6 separate regions of the Homo sapiens genome follow, and regions 1, 2, 4, 5 and 6 are each linked to region 3. Evidence: promoter capture Hi-C in human tissues and cell types (Jung and others, 2019). All regions are on one chromosome and are shown on one strand. The core of a region is centred on a gene start or on the middle of the fragment in contact, and the rest is flanking DNA. Distances in the headings are between cores, read along the strand shown.

Region 1 (4,333 bases), core at 1,643-4,142, 180 kb after region 3:
GATTTCAAACTCAAGACTACAACATCAACTCAAACCTGAATTTCCAGCCTGCTAGCCTGCCCTGCAGGATTTGAACTTTCCATCTCTCATAATTATGTAGCAGATTCCTTAAAATAAATCTATCTATCTACCTTTTTTTTTTTTTTGAGACAGTTTCACTCTGTCACCCAGGCTGGAGTGCAGTGGCACAATCTTGGCTCACTGCAACCTCTGCCTCCCAGGCTCAAGTGATTCTTGTGCCTCAGCCTCCTGAGCAGCTGGGACTACGGATGTGCCTCACCATACCCAGCTAATTTTTTGTATTTTTAATAGAGACAGGGGTTTCACCATGTTGGCCAGGCTGGTCTCGAACTCCTGACCTCAAGTGATCTGCCTGCCTGGGCCCCCCAAAGTGCTGGGATTACAGGTGTGAGCCACTGTGCCCATCCATCTATTTCTTATTGGTTCATTTTCTCTTGAGGACCCTGGCTAATATAGGAGCCATGACTGTTCACTGTGGAAAGATTGTTGCCGGTACAACTTGATATCCACATGCGTTAGAATGAAGCTGGACCCATACTTCACGTCATAAAAACTTCAAAGTGGATCATAGACTAAATGTAAGAGCTAAAACTATAAAATTCTTACAAGAAAATATAGGACTAAATCTTCATCGCTTTGGGGTAGGCAATCATTTTTTAGCTATGACATCAAAATCACAAAAGGCAGAAGAGAAAAATGGATACATTGAACTTCACAAAATTAAAACCTTTGTGCTTTTAAGGACACCATCAAGAAAGAGAAAAGACAACTCATAGAATGGGAGAAAATATATGCAAATAATGTATATTTTTTGAGACAAAGTCTCACTCTGTCACCCAGGCTGGAATGCATTGGCATGATCTCAGCTCACTGCAGGCTCTGCCTCCCAGGTTCAAGTGATTCTCCTGCCTCAGCCTCCAGATTAGCTGGGATTACAGGTGTGCGCCCCCACGCCCAGCTAATTTTTGTATTTTTAGTAGAGATGGGGTTTTGCCGTGTTGGCCAGGCTGGTCTTGAACTCCTGACCTCAAGTGATCCACTCACTTTGGTCTCCCAAAGTGCTGGGATTACAGGTGTGAGCCACTGCGCCTGGCCACAAATCATATGTCTTATAAGGGACTTATATCCAGAATATTTAAAAAGCCCTACTCTCAATTAAAAAAAGACAACCCAATTAAAAAAATGGGTAAAACATTTGAATAGACATTTCTCCAGAGAAAATATACAAATGGCCAATAAGCACATGAAAAGATGTGCAACATCATTCATCATTAGAGAAATGCAAATCAAAACCACAATGTAAGTTACCACTTCATACCCAATAAAATGGCTTTAATAAAAAAGGCAACAGCAAGTGTTGACAAGAATGTGGAGAAATTCAAACGCTCATACTTTGCTAATAGGAACATAAAATGTTACAGCCAATTTGGAAAACAGTCTGAATAAGCTGGGTGTGGTGACGCATGCCTGTAATTCCAGTTACTCGAGAGGCTGAGGCATGAGAATCACTTGAACCTGGGAGGCAGAGGTTGCGTTGAGCCGAGATCGTGCCATTGCACTCCAGCCTGAGTTACCATTTGACTCAGTAATTTCACTCCTAGGTATATGTGCAAGAGAAAAGACAACATATGTTGACACAAAAACTTGTACATGAATGTTCATGGCAACATTATTCACCACAGCCAAAAAGTGGAAACAATTCAACTGTCCATCCACTGGTGAATGGATAAACAAAATGTCTTCTAACTATACAAGGAAATATTACTTCGCAATAAAAGAATAAAGTAATGATACATGTAACAACATGAGTGAACCTTAAACTCATTAGACTGCCTGAAGGAAATCAGACAAAAAGACCACACATTTTTTTGGTCCCACTTATGGGAAATGTCCAGAATCAGCACATCCATAGACAGTAGATTGGTGCTTGCCATGTGCCTGGGCATGGGGTGGGTAGGGGAATCAGTGAGTGCTAGCAGGTATGGAGTTTTCTTTTAGGGTGAGGAAAGGGTGATAGTGATGAATGTGCAGCCCACTGAATATACTAAACACTCCATTGTACACTTTAGAAGGTTGAACTTTAGGCTGGGTGAGGTGGCTCATGCCTGTAATCCCAGCACTTTGGGAGGCTCAGGCGAGTGGATCACCTGAGGTCAGGAGTTCGAGACCAGCTTGACCAACATGGTGAAACGCTGTCTCTACTGAAAGTACAAAAGTTAGCTGGGCGTAGTGGTGCGCGACTGTAATCCCAGCTACTCAAGAGGCTGAGGCAGGAGAATTGCTTGAACCCAGGAGGTGGAGGTTGCAGTGAGCCGAGATCATGCCATTGCACTCCAGCCTGGGTGACAAGGGTGAAACTCCATCTCAAAAAAAAAAAAAACCAAATAAATAAAATAAAAAGTAAAATTTGGACTTTATGGTGTATGAATGTCTCAATAAAGCTATTATATTAAAAATACATTTCCTTAGAGAGCTGAAGGATATTGATTTAGACCTCAATTAGTGATTTTTTCCCCCTATCATTCACAGTATTTTTACCTTAGTTCTGAATCCTTGAGTGATAACCATTCATAACCTTCAAACTTCGGAGAATTCCTAAACCAATATTTGTGGAGAGGGAGAATGGGGAGATTCAGATATGATTTGGTCTGTAGACTTTCCTTCCCATCTTTTTGCTACTTACAGCAAGTATCTTACAATTTGGACACATGACATACACATTTCACCTCCTGCATTGTGAGGACATACATAATGGAGTCTGAATTGTGACATCGATCTGCATCTCATAGTTGGAGCTATTGGCAGCATGGATTTTTAGTCATCCACAGTTAATGAGGAACAAATGAAAGGGACCTTATAATGGTTCATAGGCTTCAATTCCATGCATCCTATGTGTAGTACTGCTTGATGCCACATTTAACTGCAGTAGTATTTGTTTAATGAACATTTTCTTCATTCATTTGTTTAGAAAAATATTAGGCACCCCTCTGTGGGAGGTGCTGCTAGGCTGTGGGGATTCCACGGTGAGCATGCGGACAGGGTTCCCACCTTCAGGGAGCTTAGCTCTTTTGAAAGAATTCAGATAATAAACAAGTAAACTGATAAGATACTTGCATACAGTTATAGGTGAAAAAAGAAGATAATGGGATCACGAATGACTGGATTTGGAGTGGGGTCATACCCTAGGGACACAGTCTTTCTTTTCTTTGAGACAGAGTCCCAGTCCGTCACCCCGGCTGGAGTGCAGTGGCGCTATCTAGGCTCACTGCAACCTACGCCTCCCGGGTTCAAGCAATTCTCCTGGCTCAGCCTCCTAAGTAGCTGGGACTATAGGCGCCCGCCACCACACCCGGTTAATTTTTGTTTTTTGTATTTTAGTAGAGACGGGGTTTCACCATGTTGGCCAGGCTGGTCTTGAACTTCTGACTTTGTGACCCACCCGCCTCGGCCTCCCAAAGTGCTGGGATTATAGGCGTGAGCCACCGTGCCCTGCCGGGACAGTCTTTTGAGAGGAGGTGACAATGAAAGATGAGGCAAATAAAGAAATGGAGGAGGCTCTCTCAAGCAGAGGTGACAATACGAAGGACAGAGGCAAAAACAAGTTGGGGTATTCCAGAAAGGAAAGAAGGGGATAGCTAAAGCTGAGAGGGTTGAGAGGCCAGCAGAGGCCAGATCACCCAGGGCACCCTGATAGTTCAGCAGCATGTTCTGCTACTAGGGCATTGTGATGGTTCTGTAGTGTGACTTGTTCTCTCTCTTTTTTTTTTTTTGAGACACAGTCTTGCTGTGTCACCCAGGCTGGAGTGCAGTGGCGTGATCTTAGTTCACTTCAACCTCTGCCTCCTAGGTTCAAGCAATTCTCTTGCCTCAGCCTCCCGAGTAGCTGGGATTACAGGTGCCCGCCACCACGTCTGGCTAATTTTTGTATTTTTAGTAGAGACGAGGTTTCACCATGTTGGCCAGGCTGGTCTTGAACTCCTGACCTCAGGTGATCTACCTGCCTCAGCCTCCCAAAGTGCTGGGGTTACAGGTGTGAGCCACCGTGTCCTGCCTCTTGTAGTGTGACTTGTCCTAGGGGAAAGGGGAATCTAGTGGAGGGTTAAGAAAGAGATCTGACCTGAGAAGCTTTCAACTTTCAAAGATCATCTTGGCTGCAGTGTGGGGTGGGGTGGGATGGGGCTTGGACTGAGGTGGTAGCAATCAACAGTGTTCACTGTTGTGTGGTCGGTTTTAGATGGTTTTCTTTTCTCTTTCTTTCTTTTTTTTTTTTGAGATAGTTTTCTTTTGGAAATGAGCTGGACAGAGGGTGCAG
Region 2 (4,272 bases), core at 464-2,963, 240 kb after region 3:
AGAATAAAGGTATTTTAATGAGATTAATATGTTTGAAGGTTAATTTTTATTTTTATGTACAGTAAAGGTAACATTAAACCTTTATCCCAGTTTGGCGACAAGTTCTTTAGCCTTGCTTTTTGAGCTTAGCAATGAGAGCCATAAATTTGATAGAATGTTATCCCCAATGATAGCAGATCTTGTCATGTCTGTCATTGTAATTGGTCCTGGTAGTTTCCACCAGCTTAGCTAGGACTCCTTTGTCTTCTGAGTTAACCTGTGTAAAGGCAATGGTGGTGCAGGTCTTTCTGTGGAGGAAACATCCCACCAGTCTGGCTTTTCTCTTGATAATGAACTAGGAGACTCCCATTTTAGAGCCCAAGGCAGCAGGAAGAACAACCAGCTCAGTGGAATCCACACATGTGCAGTCATCCCCAGGTGAGCCTTGTTGTTCTCCACCAAGGTGGTGACTTTATAAACACCTGCTTAAAGGACCGGCAGTCTCAGTGGGGATACCCCTTTTCTGGCAGCTCTCTGCTTTTCTTGCTCTGTGCCTGAATGTAGTTGGCCACTTTAAGCAATTCAGTAGCTGTTTGACTGGCCAATGTCTGAGTGAGCTGGTTCATCTCAGGGGATGCTTTCAAACACTTATAAAGGAAGACTCTTTGCCACCACAGCTGGATGTAACAGCTGCATTTGACAAGCAGACAGGGGTGATTATTGCATCCCATTTTGTAGGCCTAACCGGGAATGATAATAATTTCTTTTCTTTTTTCTTTTCTTTTTTTTTTAAGACAGAGTCTCACTCTGTTGCCTGGGCTGGAGTGCAGTGGTGCGATCTTTGTTTACTGAAATCTCTGCCTCCTGAGTTCAAACAGTTCTCCGCCTCAGCCTCCTGAGTAGCCGAGATTACAGACATGCACCTGGCTAATTTTTGTATTTTTAGTAGGGACGAGGTTTCACCATGTTGGCCAGGCTGATCTCAAACTACTGACCTCAGGTGATTTGTCTGCCTCAGCTTCCCAAAGTGCTGGGATTACAGGCATGAGCCACTGTGCTCAGCCTGGAAATAATAATTCAGCTTTGATTTGAACATTTTAAAACATTTTGATAGCATTTTAAATTTTGGTTAAAATAACACATGTGCCATATTTAAAATCAACAAGCCCCTGTCAGGCCTGATGCCACCCGTTTCCCTGATGGTTTACATTTGTAGAGAAGTTTTCCAGATTCGCCTTACAGAAATAAATCTGGCCATTCAAGGTCAGTCTAAATCTGTACTTCTAGAAGTCAACATATGTAAATATGACCAAACATTGAGGTTTTATTTTCCTCCATAGTAAAGACTTATCTTTTTTTTTAAAAATGGACTGTATCAAATCAATTTTTATACTTCTTTCCTCAGTAAGCAAAAATAAATTTTTCATGTGCTATAAAGACAGCATTAAATCTTTATGTCCTCTGTTGATTAGAAAGTATGATATTAGCAACACTAGGATATTTATACTCGGAACTCTGTAATTATTCTAAAATACATGCTGTCTTTTGTTTGTCTATTTTATGTGGGTTGCTCTCTCTTACCTGGTATTTGAGAAATCTACTAATGAGATCAAAGAGAATAAAAATTGGGATACTAGATTATTATTATTTATATATACATATTCCTAGAAGAATCTAGGCCTGATATAACTTTTTTAAGGGACTACTGTTCTAGGATCATTTTATCTGTTCATTATATACCCTCCAAACCAAATTCTGTAGGTGGTTTTTTTTTTTTACATTTTCTCCTGGGAAAGATAAACGAGGCACTCCATGGTAGAATAAAAAAACAGATTTGGCTTTGGGGAGTTGGGAAAGTTCTGGTGAAATGCCAAGTGCTGAGCTGCAGGTTTTCAAAATTGTTTATTTTGAAGCTTAGAATTGTTGGAAAAGTATCACATATGAGACTCATGTCATTGCTTCTGACAGTGAAATAGGTCAGCTGCCCAGGTGGTGTCTGAGAAACCTACAGAAAAAAGATAATGTATACATCTCTTCTTCAGCCCAGACTCTGTTAGCCATCCGTATAACAGGCTCAGTGGGGTTGAAAATCTTCAGTACCATTCCTTGGATACAGATCATAGTCTGGTGGTCTGACTTTTATAATCATGGTCATAGTTCTTGAGAGGTTTCTTTTTAAACTTTGCAAATTCCAAATTAATCCAGTATGGATGTGTTCACGGTGCTGTGTAACAGCAATGCCTGTTCTCAAGAGGCATATGCTTAGATCTCTTTGTACAGCAAATCAGCCTGAAATTCCATATGTCATTATTCTGACTTTAGGTCATATGGTGAATTAACTGCAAGCTTATAATGCTCACAGAAACAGCAGTGACGCAGAAGAAGGGGCGGGAGGTTCCAAGAATGACGAATGCCAGGTAGGAAAGTGGAGAAAGGCCAGAACATGAGCGTCCTCCCCACCAATTGTGGAGGGAAAGCTTTCTTGGTTTTCTTTTTCCCAGTAGGAAAAATACTTCATTAAGAAAACTGGTCACTGTAATCCCAGCTACTAGGGAGGATAAGGCATGAGAATCGCTTGAACCCAGGAGGCAGAGGTTGTAGTGAGCTGATACTACGCATAAAGTATTCTTTATCTTGTAGGCAGATGATGATGTAAACTGAATTTACTAAAGAAATGGTGAATGACATATTCATGGAACCATTCTAGTTTCTAATAAACAGTTATAGCTTGGTTAGCCCATCTGTGGGTGAGGTCACTGCAGTCAGTATGCACATACCCACCCCCAAATCGGCAGAGAACATCTGCAGAAGTGAGGCTTCCTCACTCTTCCCCCTTCCTGGAATGGTGGAGCTGGATTCTGAAAGGGATTCCTGGGCTTGAGAACGTTCTGGGCAGACCCTGAAGGGGCAAGTCCATAGTACACAATGACGTGGTAACAAGACAAACTTCTTATCAAATCCATAAAGCTATCTAAACTGCACAATATCTAGCAATGAAATTAACCAAAGAAATGAAAAATCTATACAAGGAAAATGATCAAATATTGATGAAAGAAATTGAAGAGGACACATGAAAACTGGGAATATATTCCATGCTCATGGATTGGAAGACTTAATATTATTAAAATGACAATTCTACCCAATAAAATTTACAGATTCAATGCAATCCCTATCAAAATACCACTGATCTTCTTCACAGAAATAGAAAAAAGAGTCCTAAAATTTATATGGAACCACAAAAGACCTTGAATAGCCAAAACAACCCTGAGCAAAAAGAATAAAGCTAGAGACATCATACTACCTGACTTCAAAATATACTACCAAGTTATAGTAACCAAATCAGCATAGTACTGGCATAAAATCTGACACATAGACAAATGTAACAGAATAGAGAACCCAGATATAAATCCACACACTTATAGCCAACTCATTTTTCACAGAGGTACCCAGAATATACAATGGGGGAAAGGACAGTCTCTTTAATAAGTGGGGCTGGGAAAACTGGATTTCCATATGCAGAATAATGAAACTAGACCTCATCTCACTGTATAAAAAAATCAATTGAAAAGGAGTTAAATATTTTTTATTATTATTATTATTATTATTTTTTGGAGACAGAGTCTCGCTCTGTTGCTCAGGCTGGAGTGCAGTGGTGTGATCTTGGCTCACTGCAACGTCTGCCTCCAGGGTTCAAGTGATTCTCCTGCCTCAACCTCCCGAGTAGCTGGGACTACAGGCACCCGCTGCCACGCCTGGCTAATTTTTTTTTGTATTTTAGTAGAGATGGAGTTTCACTGTGTTGTCCAGGCTGGTCTTGAGCTCCTGGGCTCAAGTGATCCTACCACCTTGGCCTCCCAAAGTGCTAGGATTACAGGTGTGAACCACTGCATCCAGCCCAAAAATGAGTTAAATATTTAAATCTAAGACAGGAATCTGTGAAACTACTAGAAGAAAACATTGAGGAAATGGTCTCAGACATTAGTCTGGGAAAATATTCTTTGTGCAAGACCTCAACAGCAGAGACAACCAAACAAAAATAGACAAATGGGATTACATCAAGCTAAAAAACTTCTGTATGGCAAAGGAAACAATAAAGTAAAAAGACAACCCACGTGATATGGTTTGGCTTTGTGTCCCTGCCCAAATCTGATCTTGAATTGTAATCCCCAGGTGTTGAGGGAGGAACCTGGTGGGAGGCGATTGGATCATGGGGGCTATTTCCCCCATGCTGTTTAGTGAGTGAGTTCTCATGAGGTCTGATGGTTTTATAAGTGTTTGACAGTTCTCATTAGA
Region 3 (4,342 bases), core at 1,833-4,332:
AATGCCATTTTTCCTAAGCATATTCTGCCTGCAGAAACCAGCCTTTTATCCTTTCTCTAGTATTCTCTAATCCCGTCCAGGATGAAAAGAGTTGTTTTTTTCTGATGTTTATCACAAGCATCCTCCTCATAAATATATACAATTTTCCAAATGAATTAAGCTCTTAGGTGTTCAATAAATTAAATGAGTATAAGCTTCACTGTTTAAAAAAAACTAACCCTTTCAATGCTATCTTATTTGTATCTTTAACCAAAAAACAAAACAAAACAATTTCCTTGGGCAGTTCCTTTTTTCTCTTTTTTTTTTTTTTTTTTGAGACAGAGTCTCACTCTGTTGCCCAGGCTGGAGTGCAGTGGCCCAATCTCAACTCACTACAACCTCCGCCTCCTGGGTTCAGGCGATTCTCCTGGCTTAGCCTCTGAGCAGCTGGGATTACAGGCACCTGCTACCACCCCTGGCTAATTTTTGTATTTTTAGTAGAGACAGGGTTTCACCATATTAGCCAGGCTGGGAAATCCTGATCTCAAGTGATCCGCCTCGGTCTCCCAAAGTGCTGGGATTACAGGTGTGAGCCACCATGCCCAGCCCCCTTGGACAGTTTCTTTAACGAAAAGTGAAACAAAAACGTTCCTCCAGGTTCCTTGTAAACTCTGGATAATTCTGAGGTGAATGCAATAACCCAGTAAGAAACTTGTCCAGGATAATTATTTTAAGATCTTCTTTGATAAGTCTGGCTACAGAGTAAAGTTAACATTCTATTATGAAGCAAGGAATAAATCCATCCCTGTATCAATTAAAGGAAGAGAATATCAATGTGAAAGGGGGCATTAGAAACCACGCTTCAAAAGGATTCCCACAGTGACAGAACTTCTCAATGAAACACCACACCCCAAGTAACGGGGGCGGGGTGGTGCACCATAGAATCTGCCCCTAGGAGGCACAGCCACCTCCACACCGAGGGTTTCCAGTTTCCCATTCACATAAAAGAAACAAGTAAGAGATTCTGGGAGGCGCTGGGCTAGGAAGGCATCTACTCACTGTCTCCACCAACAATTCCCTCAGTAAAGCAGCCATTGCCCAATAATGCTTCTATTTATTTTACCCAGAAGCAGATCTATTAGCCAGACATTCTAAAAACACAAACGCTTCGTTGTGCTTGGAGTAACTCCAATATTGATGCCTTGCTGCAGAACGATGCTGCAGGAATATAAAGTGAGCCATGTGCTAGCTGTACCCACTTATGAAGCACACTGTCAGAAACTGTCACATCCTGGAGACCAACCCATCCGAAAGACTGAGAATAAACCCCCTACGAGAACACTGTGGAAGGAGGGAGAAAGCCAAAGATAGGATGAAGCAGGGCCCTCCTAAAGTCTCCGGAACAACGAAGCCAATTTTTAAGGCAACTCTCCCTAAAGCTTTCAGGACCAGAAAGATGTTTCTTTCTCCTCTCCTTGTTCAGACTGAATAAGAAAAGCAAGACAATGCTGGAGGATGTTCTGAAATGGGCTCCGCAAGTCACCACGTGCAAAGCACATTAAACAGAAGCCAGTGCTAGGCCAGGGTTTGGCTCTGAAGATGTTGCCTACTGGAAGGAGAGGGGCCCCCGGGGGTTTCCACGCAGAGACCAGGGCTGGGCGGTCAAACCTGGTAAACTGACAAGGAGAAGAGCCTTAACAACAATATAATGAAACGGCCAGAGGCCACCGGTACTCCCCAGGGCTGGGAGAGACAGGGAGGCCGAGGCTGCTAAACTGTTCCAGATGACAAGCAGGCTCTCCCACGTCTCCACGAACTGATCAGATACCAGGGCCTCGCTTCTTTGTGAGCCTCAGCTCCCTCCTTTCTGGGGAACCCTACTCGATCCCCAACAGCCGCTGGCCTCCAGCTGCCACAAACGAGATCCAGACTCATTACAGGGAATTCGTATTTCCCCCCCTCAAATAAAACACACACACACACACACACACACAGAGTCTCCGGGGTCCAGCCGGATCACACAGCTAAAGTTTCCGGAACTTGAATCGTAAAACCACAATCAGAAGTTGTTTGGAAATACTCGCCGCAAAGCAATCTGTCCTTTGCTTTAAAAAATAAAAAATAAAAAAAACTTTGCCCTGCATAAAGGCAGACAGTAAAGAGAGACACAAATCTAACTTGGGCAGAGGGTGTGTTCCTCTTTGTCACCCGCCGGGAACCCTCGCGCCGCGCGTGGGCGAGCGGCGGGCACCCGGCGGCATCCGCGCCAGCGGCCACCTCCCCGGCCCGCAACCGGCCTCAGGGGCCGAGATTGCGGCCCGAGGTCCGGAAGCGGCGTCCAGCGCTGTCAGCGGGCGGGTAGGACGGAAGGAAACGGGGGAAGGGCGCCGGGGTCGGGGGAGGCGAGCGGGGACCGGCGCGGAGCCCCGCAGCCCGACGTCGGCGGAGGTGAGGGGAGAGGGGCGCAGGGGGCAGCCCGGAGCCCCGAGGCCCCCGAGCTCCTGCGATGGTGGCCGGGGCTGCCCGGGCCCGACCCGCCGCCCGACTGCGCAGGGCAGGACCTCGGGGACCACGCGCCCACCTTCGCCCGCAGCCGCGGCCGTGCGCTGCGGGAGCCTGGACTCGCACAAGTTGCCGCCCGCGGCCCGGACCCCGCCGGCCCCCGCCCTCCCGCCGCGGTCATTGTTCACCGCGCGCCTCCTACCTCCACAGCGCCGGCGGCTGCGGCGGCTCCCTCTCCCGGCTCGGGCTCCGGGATCGGCGGCTCCCAAGCCCCCGGCGGCCGAGGGCGCGGCGGCGCCGGCTATTAATACCCGCGGGCGGCGGCGGCGCGGGCGCGCGAGCAGGGCTGGCGGTGGCCGGCTGAGGTCCGAGCCATCAAAGGTGGCGCGGGGCGGAGGGGAGGGCGGAGCAGGCGGGGTGGGTGGGGAGCGGGCTCCGGGTCGCCATGGCCGCCTCGACGCCGGGGCCAGCGCTACTCGCGCAGGGAGGAGCGGCGCAAAGCGGGCAGCGGCCGCGTCCCCGCCCCGCGCCCCAGCCGAGCGCCCGCACCGCTGCGCCCGCGCCGGACCCGCCGCCTCTGAGGCCGGCGAGCGGGAAGTGCAGTGGCCACCGCCCCTCCCCGGGTCTGGGCCGGCCCCTCGGCGGGGGGAGGCGGGCGCCGCGCAGCCCGAGCAGCGGGGACGCGGGAGAGCCACAGCCCCCTCCAGCGTCCGGGCCCGCGCCCTGCGCCCGCCCCGCCCCGCTCCGCTCCGCCCGGGCAGGTGCGCCCAGGGGCCTCCCGAGCCCAGCGCGCCGCCGGGGATCTGCGCCTCTCTTGGGCTTCCGGCCAGGGCCGGGCTCCGCGCGGCGCTACCTAATGCAGCGCGGGGAGCGCCACTGGCGAGACGCGAATCCAGCAGCTGTGGCGAAAAACGAACCGGGGAGAGCGGGAGACGTGTGCACGGCGAAGCCGGGAGCGGCAGGCGGGCGGTCAGGGGCTCGGACTCTGCAGGTCGCTTTTTGAGGTCCTGCCTGGGGCTGCTTCGCCTGCGACGTCGCGCGGGGAGGACAGTCTTCAGGGACCCACCGAGCCCTCCCCTCCCCCGGAGCCACAGGCACGGGCTTCCGGCACCACCCCGGGCTGCGCGGGACTTAAGCTTGGGGGAGCGGCGGCCACCCCGCGCCCGCCCACGTCCTGGCCCAGCGCCCTCCGCCCGAGCGAATCCCATGACAGTTCCCGCCCGCCCAGCCTCGGGGGACAGTGCCCTTGGGGAATGGCGTGGGGGAGGTTAGGAGTGGCTTGCGGTGCTTGAGAGCCTTCGGGGTTTCGGGAACTCTACGGAGCGGGGAGCAAGATTCAGGACCCAGGAGGCAGCGATCTAGGGGCACAGTCACCGTCCCCACCCAGCAGCTGCCGCGTTACCTTCTCTTCCCCCTTCTGAGCCTCCAGTCCCTCTCTCTAAGCGTGGCGGGAAGAGGCCTAGGGCGCAGCAAGTGACGTTCTGCCAGACCCGGGGCTAGCGGATTCCGGCCTTCGGAGGCCACTGGCTCAGAACCGTGGGCCTTTTGCGTCTTACAGGAGTTCCCTGACCTCAGACCGAGAGGGCAGATTTCACGGGAGAGGCCTCAAGTGAACTCACAGCTGGACAGGAGCTGGGCAGAAGTGGAGTGTAGGGACCCTGATAGAAGGGCGGGTTGAGACAAGAACAGGGGTCTTGGAAGTAGGGGGTGCTTGTGGGCAGCTCCTGGGGAGGAGCAGAGATGTAATACTTGCAGATTTGGTGGTCTGTGGTTGAAGAGAAGAAATGGTGGGTTTGAGGCTTTGCTCTGTCAGCCCAACCAGCTGTGTGTCACAGATCAGATTTTTTTCTGCTCGTGATTC
Region 4 (4,093 bases), core at 375-2,874, 160 kb after region 3:
TCTGATAACCTCAAGTTCCCATTCTAGTAAAAAGCACATAGGATCTTAACAATGCTGAAAACTGTGCCAAAAAGTATTCACAGCCGAGGAGAGAAGATGGTTTGAATTTATTTATCCAGAAGAGATAATTTATGTAAAGATATTCACAAGCTGAATGCAAAAATGGTTATGTACCTTTGAGACTTTTCACTTAATATTTACCAAAGCAACTCCTTATACCAGTAGTATGTTTTCATTTAAAAAGTATCTCACTATACAATAAAAAGCACCCAGCTTAGCCACTTAAACACTGGTAATGTGATCAATGTTTAACACTTAAATTTTCAGTGGTCTAAATCAAGTTTTTGCAAAAACTTTTTTTTTTTTTTTTTTGAGATAGAGTCTCACTCTGTCGCCCAGGCTAGAGCGCAGTGGTGCGATCTCGGCTCACTGCAACCTCTGCTGCCCAGGTTCAAGAGATTCTCCTGCCTCAGCCTCCTCAGTAGCTGGGATTACAGGCGCCTGCCACCGCGCCCGGCTAATTTTTTATTTTTAGTAGAGATGGGATTTCACCATCTTGGCCAGGCTGGTCTTGAACTCCCGACCTCGTGATCCACCTGCCTCGGCCTCCCAAAGTGCTGGGATTACAGTCATGAGCCACCGCGCCCAGCCATAAACTTCTCTACTAGGCTATCACTGTCAGAAAACCTAATATAAATCCTGAGGCTCCCTACTCTTGCCCAGGCGGAACTGTTGGTGTGACTATGCTAACTCTAGTAGACTTAACAATTGACCCAACTTAACATTGGGCCAAATATTAAACTCTACTCCATAATGAATTAGAAGCCAATGGTGGGAGAGTTTAGTACGAGTGACAGATGATGTCTGTTGAGAGAGGGTTCTCTCCATGTGATATGTTCCACTGTGGTAATCCAAATATAGTATTACATCAATACCATCACAATGGTCAAGGATAATGGTTAAACAGTCTAAGTTCCACACAGACAGGGATGGTAACTTTTTATCTTTGTATCTAAGTACGTAGCATATTAGTGTATAAGAATTATAAAGACTGTTTCTAATACTATTCCTAGCACTAGTCCAGTTAGGTTCAGTGAATGTTATCAGTTGTGGCAAACAAAATTTCAATTTGATTTGATTCCACCTTATACAATTTACACAATGCAAAGACTTCTCCTCCGCCTCTTCCCTGCCCACGAAGAAGAAATGCTCATATGTACTCATCTCATTCCATAAATATTTATAGTGAGCCTACCTTGTATGAGGAAAAGTAAAAGAGGGGACACATGACTTTTATCTATTAACACCCTGGTTCCTCAACAATCAGGTATATTTTTCAATGTTATCCTCTGTCTATTGAAATCTCAACAATGGGCTGGGTGTGGTGGCTCATGCCTGTAATTCCAACACTTTGGGAGATGGGAGGATCACTTGAGGCCAGGAGTTCAAGACCAGCCTGGGCAACACAGCAAGACCCTGTCTCTACAAAAAACACTCAATGAAATTCTCTATTAGAGTCAATGAGGAACAAATTCTGTATGGAGAACCTTAGTAAGAAAATAAAATCCATGCATATGATTAATAAATACTTAAGCTTATGTCATATAAAAATGTCTAGTGATAAATACCATGAATACTGTACTTTGCACTACTTGTCAACTATTTATTCAATGGTTTATTCACGTTATTGTATTCTGAGACTCAGGGACATTCACATACGTTTCTTCAAATGAGAAACATTTTCTATAAAGTTAAAGAGAAATATCCTTACAGATTTTTAAAAATAGAAATAAACTATAAAGCCTACTAAATGGCATATACGACGAAAAAAGTTTTAACTTTTTAGAGTTTTGACGTCTCTTCAATGATTTCAACCAAATATATAACCATATTTGAATACAAAAGTCACCTTAGTCAACAGTTTGGTATTTATGTGTCGACTAAGTATTTTTATTTTGAATGAGTAAATTACAAAGATATTTACTGAGCCCTGGCCAATTTTTCAGTTCATAGAAAATATTTCTATATTTGCTGTATCAGACTTAATGCTAATTTTATTTCATTTGATCTCTTATAAAACGCTTATTTCATTAGGCAAAAAAGAAAGGGGCATTCTATGGCACCAGAGAGCTTCTCTTAACATTTACTTTTTTGGAGGTCAAATTAGAAAATTCTGTATCACAGTACTTAGTTTACATATTAATACATTCTCAGGATATACAAAGAAAGTAAAAACCTAGTATCTGAATGTTTTCACTAGGAATAAAGAGACTAAGAGAATAACAGTACTTATTTCCAATTGTTCTTTATGAGAAAATGTGCTGAATGCTGATAACTATCCCCAAAGTGATGTAAGTGATAAAAGATTTACAACAGGCACCAATTGGAATTCAAGCTAAACCAGACACTGGTATTTAGTTCAATAGAAGAGAGATTCCCCACTAGGCTTGACAATAGAGACTTAAGCAACTGGAGGGAACAGAGAGAATTAAACTAGCTTACTAATTACAATGCTGTTCTGCTTTGTAACACATGAAAATTTCTATTATTTTCATGCTGGGATTAAAAAGTTATTTTGGCGAAAAATTATCTCAAGAGTTACCAGAAAGCATTAATTTTTTTTTTTAAAGCATCATCATATCCCCAAGGCAAACTGGTGCAATACATGCATATCACTTCTAGGAACAAATGCTACTTTTCAGTATTCTACAAGCAAACCTGGCAAAGTATGCAAAGATAGGTATACATGTACTCCTGCGCATAGTACTATTTTTAAAAGAGCAGGTCACTGGAAACCGCAATATCCATTTCATAGAGGGTTGCTTATATAAATATCTATCCATATGATGTATAATCTATAGCTGACCAAAACCTCACTTATGAGGCAATGTGAAATATAGAGTGAAAAATTCAAGTTGCAAAATAGTGTAAATAGTATTATAAGCCCATTAAGTAAAAAATGAATGTGTATGTTAAATTTTCAGCGAAGATTCACGACACAAGCGGTCACCTTTGGGAAACGGGATAAGAAACGATTCACTGTTTGAATTTTTACCCTGAACATGTATTACATGTATAATAAATAAAAACTTAATGAAGTGAATAGTAGAAAATGCTTTTTCACATAGAACCGAATTTTGGGTGTGTTTACTTCACTTAATATAAAACCCCTAAGTGTAACCAGCATATCCACCATCTATTCAAAACAACGATTACCACCGTCGTTTCAAAGACACCTGGAAAAGTCTTCAGGCCTGAGTTCAGAAGAGGACTTGCAGTCAATTTCATTGGCTATATGTAAAATTAATTTTTGTTATTTAAAAATATCTGGCTGAACATCCTTCACTTAATCTTATGAAACTCTACAATCGCATGGTTGCAAAAACCCCATATATAACCAAGTTTGGCGGTCAGCTAAGAAACTGGAAAGTTTCTCCCTCCCCTGGAAGTATCCCACAAGAATCGTGGTCTCAACGCTGAAAATGTAACATCAGTCTTCTAGTGAACTTGGTAAATGAGCTTACAGATATATTTAAAATACTGTCACTTGAAAGTCTCTCCACATTTTGGAGGCCAGGAACAAGAGGTGGTTTGAAAAAAAGAGATTACGGTTAGATTTAATGAAGTTGAAGACTTAAACATATGGTACTGGCCCAGTTAAACAACGGAAGTCCCACTACATCCCATTTATCCCACGATTCTCTAGAGAGCAAAGAAAATTTGTCTGAAGAGCAGAGTAAGTGTATTATAAGCCCAGAGTAAGGTGGAAACTGCATAGAAAGAAACCCTAAAGGCAACTTCACAAAACTGGAGGTGGGAGGGGGTAGGGAAATCTGGCTTCTGATGTTAGGAACTAGAATGAGAAAGAACTAAATGGAAAAAGGCAGTAGGGACAAGGCAGGGCACATATTTAAAAAGAGAGGGACAGACGGTGTGGGAGATGAGCAGGGGTAGAAGCAGGCGTGACGGGTCAGGTAGCAGCCAGGGTTTGGGAGACCCACAGCGCTAGGCTGGGTGGAGACAGCGGCTGGAAGGGCAGTGGGGGCTCCCACTGGGAGAAAGCGGGAAAGGGGCAAGCGGGGAGCTGGGAAGC
Region 5 (4,353 bases), core at 1,313-3,812, 140 kb after region 3:
TTCAGTGATGGCATAAATAAATCATAGTAGGGGACAAATTTTTCTTCTGCAGTATCGGCAACTGATGCAATGGATGTCACAACTTGTTCCAAAACTAACTTGGTGCCTTTCTGAATCAGCTAGAAGGAAGACACAAATTATTACCTCAAAGGAAAACTGGAAGAAGTATTTAAATTTACAATTACTACTCCCTTCAAGTTCTTGAATGCTTTTCTGAAACAGCAGAATGAGACCACCTCTCCAGAAGCAGAGACTGTAGGTTTTGGAGGAAATTTCTATAAAAAGAATCTATGTTGAACTATTTATGTGAGATTTTTTTTTTCTCTCTTCTATTAACACAACACCTCTAACTCATGTTAGTCTCATCTCAAAGCACAGCTAATTCTTGAGTACAGATACGGAATCAAAATTTTTGTGTTCATCAACTTTAATGCCTACACTTCATCCTCATTTTTTTCTTCACTGATTTCCTCTACTTATGATTATATTTTGTGCTGTCTTACTACGTCATAAAGAAAATTCCCTCTTTGGCCCCTTCCTTTATCTTCTAACCCCCTCTCCCCAGAAGATCGCACGAAGGAACCCTGCTGCCTTCTCTTGCATCTGTCTTGCTGAAACAGATGAGATGACCTTTTTCTCTGCACCAAAGATCTGGTGTTCTCTGACCCAGCTAGTAACAAATGCTTACTAACTATTTGCTGCTGGGCCCGTCCTGTCACCAGCAATATTTTAAAATAATTCTTCTGTAATCCCAGGACTCTGGGAGGCTGAGGCAGGCGGATCACCTGAGTCAGGAGTTCAAAACCAGCCTGGCCAACATGGTGAAACCCTGTCTCTACTAAATAAATAAATAAATAAATAAATAAATAAATAAATAAATAAAAATTAGCCAGGTGTGGTGGCACACCCCTGTAATCCCATTACTCCGGAAGCAGAGGAAGGAGAATTGCTTGAACTGGGGAGGCAGAGGTTGCAGTGAGCCGAGATTGCGCCACTACATCCCAGCTGGGTTGACAAGAGCAAGACTCTGTCTGGGGAAAAAAAAAAAAAGAAGCCAGGCACGGTGACTCACACCTGTAATCCCAGCACTTTGGGAGGCCCAGGTGGGCGGATGACTTGAGGTCAGGTGTTCAAGAACAGACTGGCCAACATGGTGAAACCCTGTCTCCACTCAAAATACAAAAATTAGCCGGGTGTGGTGGGTGCACGTCTGTAATCCCAGCTACTCGGCAGGCTGAGGCAGGAGAATGGCTTGAACCCGGGAGACGGCGGTTGCGGTGAGCAGAGAGTGCGTTATCGCACTCCAGCCTGGGCGAGACTCCATCTCAAAATAAAAATAAATAAATAAATAAATAAAATAAAATAAAATAAAATATTAACTCATATGAACCTGAGCCAGTTACTACTCCAGATTTTCATAATTCCCCACGTCAATTACACCCACACTCTCAGCAGAGTTCTTTAACTTGTGTTACACATTCAACTATGTCTTGAGAAAGCCATCTTACTTTCTGCTTCTGTACCTCAACCTCTGCTCCATGTTTAGTGTGGACTGTGCTGCTGGCCCCAGAGGAAATGTCTTTCCTCCTCTGCTAGGCTACCTTCTCTTCGTACAACTCTTCCTCGTGAACACTGTCCTCCTACCATCCCATCCCAACAACTCCTTCCACTTATCTTTAAAAACCCATATAGTGCCTCACTGCAGGAAGGAAGGGCAGGGGTACACACAGACTATCATACCACAGCCATCCACCCAAACCTGTAAAGTCATGTTGGATCCATCCATTACTGATTTAACCAACCAACCAATCTGCCTTCAACTTGGGTCCACCTCGGTCTGCCTTCGGGCACACGAATGTTTCCTTTATCATATTCTTAGTCTGCTGTCATCTGATACTGAGCACTTGGGCCTTTGTTTATAAGTCCTCTGTCTTTGGCTTCTGAGACATTGCATTTCTTGTTTATCTTGCTCTCTGACCAATTGCCAGTGCTATGCAAACTGTGGTTTGTTAACTATTTGCTACCAGTTCATATTAAGTATAGGAATTGAGGGCATTAGAAACTTTTATAGCAATTTGAGAGCAGGTTTATCTTTTATTTTCTATGCCTTCTATTCATTTCATTTTTATAGTAGTAATCCATTTTCATTGCATTTGACAATAAACATTTGACAATAAACTGGGCTAAAATCCTTGCTTTTCGCATCTACATCTCTCACACACTGTGCTGGACTAACATCATTCAATTGTTTTCAGGTTGCATCCCTTATTTCAGCTGTAACTATAATCATTTTTACTTGGATACTCAAAAATGATGTTGCTTCTACAACTTCTGTATTTCTGCCACTCTGGTTAGAATACTCAATGTTTTTTAATTTCTTCTCTTTCATCTTTTTTTTTTTGAAACAGAATTTTGCTCTTGTTGCCCAGGTTGAAGGGCAGTGGCACCACCTCAGCTCACTGCAACCTCTGCCTCCCGGGTTCAAGTGATTCTCCTCTTAGCCTCCCGAGTAGCTGGAATTACAGGCGTGCACCACCACACCCGGCTAATTTTGTATTTTTAGGAGAGATGGGATTTCACCATGTTGGCCAGGCTGGTCTCGAACTCCTGACCTCAGGTGATCCACCTGCCTCAGCCTCCCAAAGTGCTGGGATTACGGGGATGAGCCACCGTGCCGGGCCCTTTCATCTTTTAAAATTCAAACTGCCAGAAACAAACTGTTAATGCTTCCCATGAAATGTCTTTTAGAATCACCTCTTCCACTATTACTATCTAAGCTCCCTGGACGATGACAGTATGATGGTCTTGCCTTAAATCTTCTCCCTTTTTTGTGTATGCCTCACCCAATGCTACCACACTAATTTTTTACCATATGATAATTTCCTGCAGCATTTAAGAACACAGAATGGTTTTTCACACTTTACATAAATCAGAGTTCAAAAACTTCTCTGCCTTATTTTCAGGGTGATCCATATACACTGATTTTACCTGACCTTTAGCTGTATCTTTCCCAATTCCAATTATCAGCCCACATTTTGGTCAATCTGAATTTCTCTACTCATCATTCCACAACTCCGAATAGCCTCCTCAGTTTTTGTACTTTATATTCTTTATGGTCATGCTGCAAGTCCCTCTTTCTCCAGTTCTTACCCATCAAATCAACCCAAATTAATCTACAAACAGAAAGCAGCCTACAGATCTTAAAACTTACCTCTTGAAGCTTCAGTACCATAATGGAATGCAGATGTTTCACCAAATTATCCAAGTATGGAATAAGTAGTGACTTGGGACAGTCTTCAGTAAAGTTAATGAGGGCAGCAGCTGCATGGGCCTGCACACGTTGATTGCCTTGGTCTTCCATGGTCTGCAGCAGAGCTGCAATCACCTGTGAAATGAAACCAAATGGGCACACATGTTGAAATGTCCACCCTTCTTCCTAAAGTCTGATTTAAGTGTTTGAGGACTTGTTACTTACCTTCTCATGAAATTTCTTTTGGAAACCAGGTGCAAAATCTGTAGCCATCTGTCCCACGGCATTACAGGCTGCATACCTTACTCTTGGATGCTGGAAAATGTTCCCTTTCATTAGTAAAAGCAAGAAGGTTTCCACATGAAGCTACACTAATCATTTTGAATCAAATATTTACTGGTACTTACAGGATCCTGGAGAAAAAGTAAAACAAAATTTACGATCTCATTTAGAATTCCTTCCATTTGCTGGTGGCACCCTTCACCAATGGCAGATAAGGCCATCAATCCTGCATGCCGGTATTTCCAGTCAGCTACCGAAAAAAATTACAGATGGAATAGCAATTACACACTATAAACATGTCATTCTGGTAGAGGGAGATGTATAAAAGTTCTTATTTGGAAAAGAGTAACAAAACTTTTTTGAAAAGGGTATATGTATATATAATATAAAAACATTTGTATAGGCCGGGCGCGGTGGCTCGCGCCTGTAATCCCAGCACTTTGGGAGTCTGAGGCGGGCGGATCACAAGGTCAGGAGATCGAGACCATCCTGGTTAACGTGGTGAAACCCCGTCTCTACTTAAAAATACAAAAAATTAGCCGGGCACGGTGGCAGGCGCCTGTATTCCCAGCTACTCGGGAGGCTGAGGCAGGAGAATGGTGTGAACCCGGGGGGGCGGAGCTTGCAGTGAGCCGAGATCGCGCCACTGCACTCTGGTCTGGGCGAAAGAGCGAGACTCTGTCTCAAAAAAAAAACAGAAACAAACAAACAAAAAAAACAAAAAACAAAACATTTGTATATTTACTTTTTAGAAAAATGAACAGAAAAAGTGCGTGACTACTTGATTCTAAAAGTATGTATCAGGCCAGGCGCGGTGGCTC
Region 6 (4,288 bases), core at 1,288-3,787, 150 kb before region 3:
CAAAGGAGAGACAGCAAACAGTGATGAGAAGGTGGGGAGGGAGGCTGACGGGGCAGGAGTACTCTGGCTAGCTTGTTGGGAGTACAAGGAGTGACTCCCTGCACCAGGACATGGAATCTTGCTGAGGGGCTCAGAACAGTGTTGCTGGGATGGGATATACCCGCTGGCAGAAACTTGCCCCTCATGATAGTTCCTTTGCAGGTTTGGAATCCAACCACCAAGTTCTGCTGAACGAATGATTTTATAATCAGCTAACTCTGCCCACGATGGAAAGCAAAGGCCAGTTTCACAGACCCAAATACATTTGGCCTCTGAACGACATGGATTTGAACTGTGAGGATCCATTTACATGTGGATTTTCTTCTGCCTCTGCCGTCCCAGAGACAGCATGACCAGCCACTCATCCTCCTCCTCCTCCTCAGCCCACTCAACATGAAGACGATGAGGAGGAAGGCCTTTCGGATGATCCACTTCCATTAAACAAATCGTAAATGTATTCTCTCTTCCTTATGATTTTCTTAATAACATTTTCCTTGACTCTAGCTTACTTTACTGTAGGAATCTCAGTATATAATACATACAACATACAAAACATGTTAATTGACTATGTTATTGGTAAGGCTTCTGATTAACAGTAGGCTATTAGTAGTTAAGTTTTTGGGGAGTCAAAAGGTATACGTGGATTTCTGACTGCACAGGTTGGGCACCCCAACCTGCGTTGTTCACGGATCAACTGTAATCTCAAGAACTAGGCAACTGTAATATTTACTTATATAATCAGAGATGTGCATCCTTTCAAATTTCAAGTTCCTTTCATATGGAGCAAAGAAAGTATCTAAAATTCAGGGGCTAATGTTCTTTTCATGTGTTTGCCCCCTTGGTCTTTCCCTTCTGAAAACGGCAACTCCATTTTGCCAGCTCCTTGGCCCAAAAACCTTGGAGTCATCCATGACTCCTCTTTCTCACACATTCAATACCCAATTCTTTAGGAGATCTTGTCAGCTCTACTGTCAAAATGTAGCTGGAACCCCAGCACTTCCCACCACCTACACCAGTACGATGTTACTCAAAGCCACCGCCATTGGTCTCCTGGCCACTACTGTCCCAACTCAGCAGCCAATGTGGTCCTTTTGCAAGGTCAGGTCAGATCCGTCCTTCAGAATAAACTCTGAACTGTTCCTGGCCTACTGCAATTTCTCTGGGCATCCAACCCTATACCACACTGTCCCTCACCTGTTCTCTACAGCCATGGAGGACACCTTGCGGTTCCTTAAAGACACAGAACATGCTCTCTACCTCAGGGCCTTTGCACGTTCTCTTTTTGCTCTCTAAAACTTGGACATTTAGCAGAGACCCATGGGAAATGGGGAAGTCATTTTTGAGGTCATTTCCCATAGGTCTCTGCTAAATGTCACTTTTTCAGAGAGGCCTGTCTGACAAGTTTTATAAAATATGAACATGTATATATCCATTTGCACACCATTATGCTCTCTCCTTCCTCCCTTACTTTGTTTTTCTTTGTAGTACTTAGTACCACCTGGCATATGATGTAGTTAGGTCTTTTCCTGTCTTTCTGTACTGGAACGTAAGTTCCCAGCCCTCTACAAGGGGGAAATCCCCCAGAAGTAAGGCTTGGGGATGACGGACTGCCCTTCCCAACCTCACCACTCCCTCCTCGCCACCCAACACCAAAAAAAAAAAAAAAAGATAAATCTCCACCACACTTCTCTAAATCAGAGTTGTACTGAAAGGTGTAAAATGGGGGTGTTGTGGGGAGAAGTACGCGTGTGTATGAAACACTGACCTTTGCATCAGGAAACCTATTCAAAAACCCAGGTATTTCCAGGACAAATGTTCCTATCTCCCTGACAGTTCCTGTGCTCTTTTTCTGTATGGGCTAATTTTAATTCCATCTCATTGGGTCCCTGTAGTAATCAATGTTGACAGTCCCAGATGCCAGGCTTTCGGGAGGGCGTCTGCTTATTCCCTCGGGATTACACTAAGTGACTTAACCCACAGGACAGCGAGCAGTTCTCTAGAGTTTTCAAGAGAAATAGCATGCAGTGCACAGTCCACACCAAGAGCCAGAGGGGTCCTGCAGGGCTCTGAGCATCTGTGTATCGAGACAGTGATCTCCTTGAGAGCAGGGACCTCATCCTCCTTCATGGCTGGCCCGGATGCCTTGCATGAGATCTAGACGTAGTCAAGCTCAATACGAGCTGGAAGAATGCTGCCCAGCTGAAGATAACCAAATATTTTACAGATTGTTCACTGCATGCGGATGGCTCAAATAAATGCTTTTCATCTATCATTGGAAATAGATGCATTTTTTAAAGCATTAAGTATTACGGCCATTCATGTTGAGTATACGGAGACACCAGATTTGCACTCAGCGGGAATGAAACGGTCTTCCATTTTACGGGTAACCACTTAGAATTTCCTATGTTGTGCTTAATTTAACTTTGAGACTCTGCATTAGCCAAAGTACAATAACATTAACATTAATTGTTTCTTTAAGGGAAGAAAGGTATGATCGGATTAATGTGTCCGTGAGCACATACACCAGGCCTGGCACGTGGTTCCCAACTGCTGCTGGATCCACCCACAAGTCTTGGCATAGGACTAATTCAGCCCAAAAGTACATTTTGATGGTCTGTGGGATGGATCCCAATGGTAGCTGACAGCTGACATTGAATATTTGAGTACACGGTATCGCAAACATTAATGAGTTATAAAAGAAAATATCATCCCACTGAGTCGAATTGCTCATACACAGAAAAAAAAAAAAAAAAGCCATAGGAACTGCTGTTCCTACAATACCCAGAAATAGAATTCATAACATATGACTGGCACAATTAAGACATTTGAGAGCTTGGTAAAAATAAATAATTATGTAATAGAAAAAAAGCAGTGATAACTTTCAAAACATTTAAACACCACATAGGCCAGCATCTCGCCCAAAGCTGAAATCTCATTCACTGGATATCCAGCAGGGGTGTGTGTATTCGTTCAAACACTTGTGGAACCCAGGTGCTGTTACCGCCATCAAAACAATGATCCGTCTGTAGGCACCACTAACCATGAGACTCCTCCAGCACCTATCAGATGTTAAGACAGACACTAAGGATAAAATGACAGAAAACCGCATTTCTGGGCCCAAGGGCCTCAGAATCTATTTAAAGGAGACAATACAAAATTACACAGTGAAGGGGTTGGTGATGGGACACAGTGAGGCCACAAGCGCACCAAGGAGAAATATCATGAATAAGAAAGCAGGAAAGACTCCAAGGAAGTAATAGTGCTTTGGCTCATACTGAAGTCTGTTCAAGAAGCAAGAGGCCAAGGCATTCCAATGAAGCGCAGACATGGGGCGGGAGCGTGGAGAGGATCTGTAAGTATATCAAGAGGCTCCCGTCAGTTCCAGAATAGCCATATGTACGTGCTATGAAGCTTAGATTTTATCCCAAAGATGAAGGAAAACCACTGAAGAATAACACACTTAGCTATGCATAAGCAAACCTATACCATCCCTCCTCAGTCTTTATTGTGCTACTTACTAATTGAATGTCAGTCCTCCCCCAGCGACCCTAAGCTCCATGAGAACAGGGACTGCATGGGTTTTGTTCACCCATGTATTCCTATCATCAAAAGAAGTGTGTGGGGCCGGGTACGGAGGCTCACGTCTGTAATCCCAGCACTTTGGGAGGCCGACGTGGGCGGATCACGAGGTCAGGAGATCCAGACCATCCTGGCCAAGATGGTGAAACTCTGTCTCTACTAAAATTACAAAAATTAGCCGGGCATGGTGGTGGGTGCCCGTAGTCCCAGCTACTCGGGAGGCTGAGGCAGAAGAATCGCTTGAACCAGGGAGTCAGAGGTTGCAGTGAGCCGAGACCGTGCCACTGCACTGCAGCCTGGTGACAGAGCGAGACTACGTCTCAAAAAAAAAAAAAAAAAAAAGAAGTGCCTGGGACATGGCATAACCAGTTTTCAAGCTGTCAAACGGCACAGCACAAAACATCATATTGGATTTTTTTTTAAAGATTATGCATGAAGAGAATTAAAAATGAGCTAAAGAAAATTGAAATCAACTGTAGCTTAGGAAATTCAATATGTTGAAATATGTGCTTTTAAATAACAGGTAGGGGGCAAACAATCTAGAATCAGTCAAGTAGAATCTGGTTGCCAATGTGTAAAAGCAAAGTCAGAATAATCATGGTAAAGACACGTCTTGGCTGGGCACAGTGGCTCACACCTGTAATCCCGCACTTTGGGAGGCTGAGATGGG

Evidence for each region. Contacts are between HindIII fragments. The study calls those that stand out against the background at their distance.
Region 1: a fragment that was not itself captured here is called in contact with the fragment with the promoter of FARP1 in region 3 in 1 of the 25 tissues and cell types used here (dorsolateral prefrontal cortex).
Region 2: a contact is called between a fragment that was not itself captured here and the fragment with the promoter of FARP1 in region 3, in 4 of the 25 tissues and cell types used here (aorta, mesenchymal stem cells, spleen and 1 more).
Region 4: a fragment that was not itself captured here is called in contact with the fragment with the promoter of FARP1 in region 3 in 1 of the 25 tissues and cell types used here (mesenchymal stem cells).
Region 5: a fragment that was not itself captured here is called in contact with the fragment with the promoter of FARP1 in region 3 in 2 of the 25 tissues and cell types used here (IMR-90 fibroblasts and mesenchymal stem cells).
Region 6: a contact is called between a fragment that was not itself captured here and the fragment with the promoter of FARP1 in region 3, in 9 of the 25 tissues and cell types used here (H1 embryonic stem cells, IMR-90 fibroblasts, dorsolateral prefrontal cortex and 6 more).

Annotation. Positions count from the first base shown.
Region 1 is chr13:97,958,630-97,962,962 of GRCh38, reverse strand. The region is part of intron 2 of IPO5 (importin 5); the gene reads right to left. Among named protein-coding and RNA genes, the nearest start is that of IPO5, 7.1 kb to the right of the region's middle. The HindIII fragment of the contact is 5,039 bases long and covers 373-4,333 here.
Region 2 is chr13:97,898,063-97,902,334 of GRCh38, reverse strand. It overlaps the pseudogene RPL7AP61. Among named protein-coding and RNA genes, the nearest start is that of IPO5, 53 kb to the left of the region's middle. The HindIII fragment of the contact is 4,150 bases long and covers 1-3,788 here.
Region 3 is chr13:98,141,834-98,146,175 of GRCh38, reverse strand. It overlaps FARP1 (FERM, ARH/RhoGEF and pleckstrin domain protein 1), which reads right to left and starts at 3,082. Exons shown (of 27, transcript NM_005766.4): 1 at 2,684-3,082. LOC105370328 (a long non-coding RNA gene) reads left to right here and starts at 2,266. Exons shown (of 3, transcript XR_931670.4): 1 at 2,266-2,337. RefSeq lists silencers at 3,032-3,341, 3,582-3,631. The HindIII fragment of the contact is 5,274 bases long and covers 807-4,342 here.
Region 4 is chr13:97,977,106-97,981,198 of GRCh38, reverse strand. All of the region lies in intron 4 of IPO5 (importin 5), which reads right to left. Among named protein-coding and RNA genes, the nearest start is that of IPO5, 25 kb to the right of the region's middle. RefSeq lists a silencer at 4,002-4,093. The HindIII fragment of the contact is 7,265 bases long and covers 1-4,093 here.
Region 5 is chr13:98,001,896-98,006,248 of GRCh38, reverse strand. IPO5 (importin 5) reads right to left here. Exons shown (of 29, transcript NM_002271.6): 14 at 3,658-3,782; 15 at 3,476-3,565; 16 at 3,212-3,385; 17 at 1-119. Among named protein-coding and RNA genes, the nearest start is that of IPO5, 50 kb to the right of the region's middle. The HindIII fragment of the contact is 3,648 bases long and covers 739-4,353 here.
Region 6 is chr13:98,287,473-98,291,760 of GRCh38, reverse strand. The region is part of intron 2 of FARP1 (FERM, ARH/RhoGEF and pleckstrin domain protein 1); the gene reads right to left. Among named protein-coding and RNA genes, the nearest start is that of MIR3170, 81 kb to the right of the region's middle. The HindIII fragment of the contact is 9,849 bases long and covers 1-4,288 here.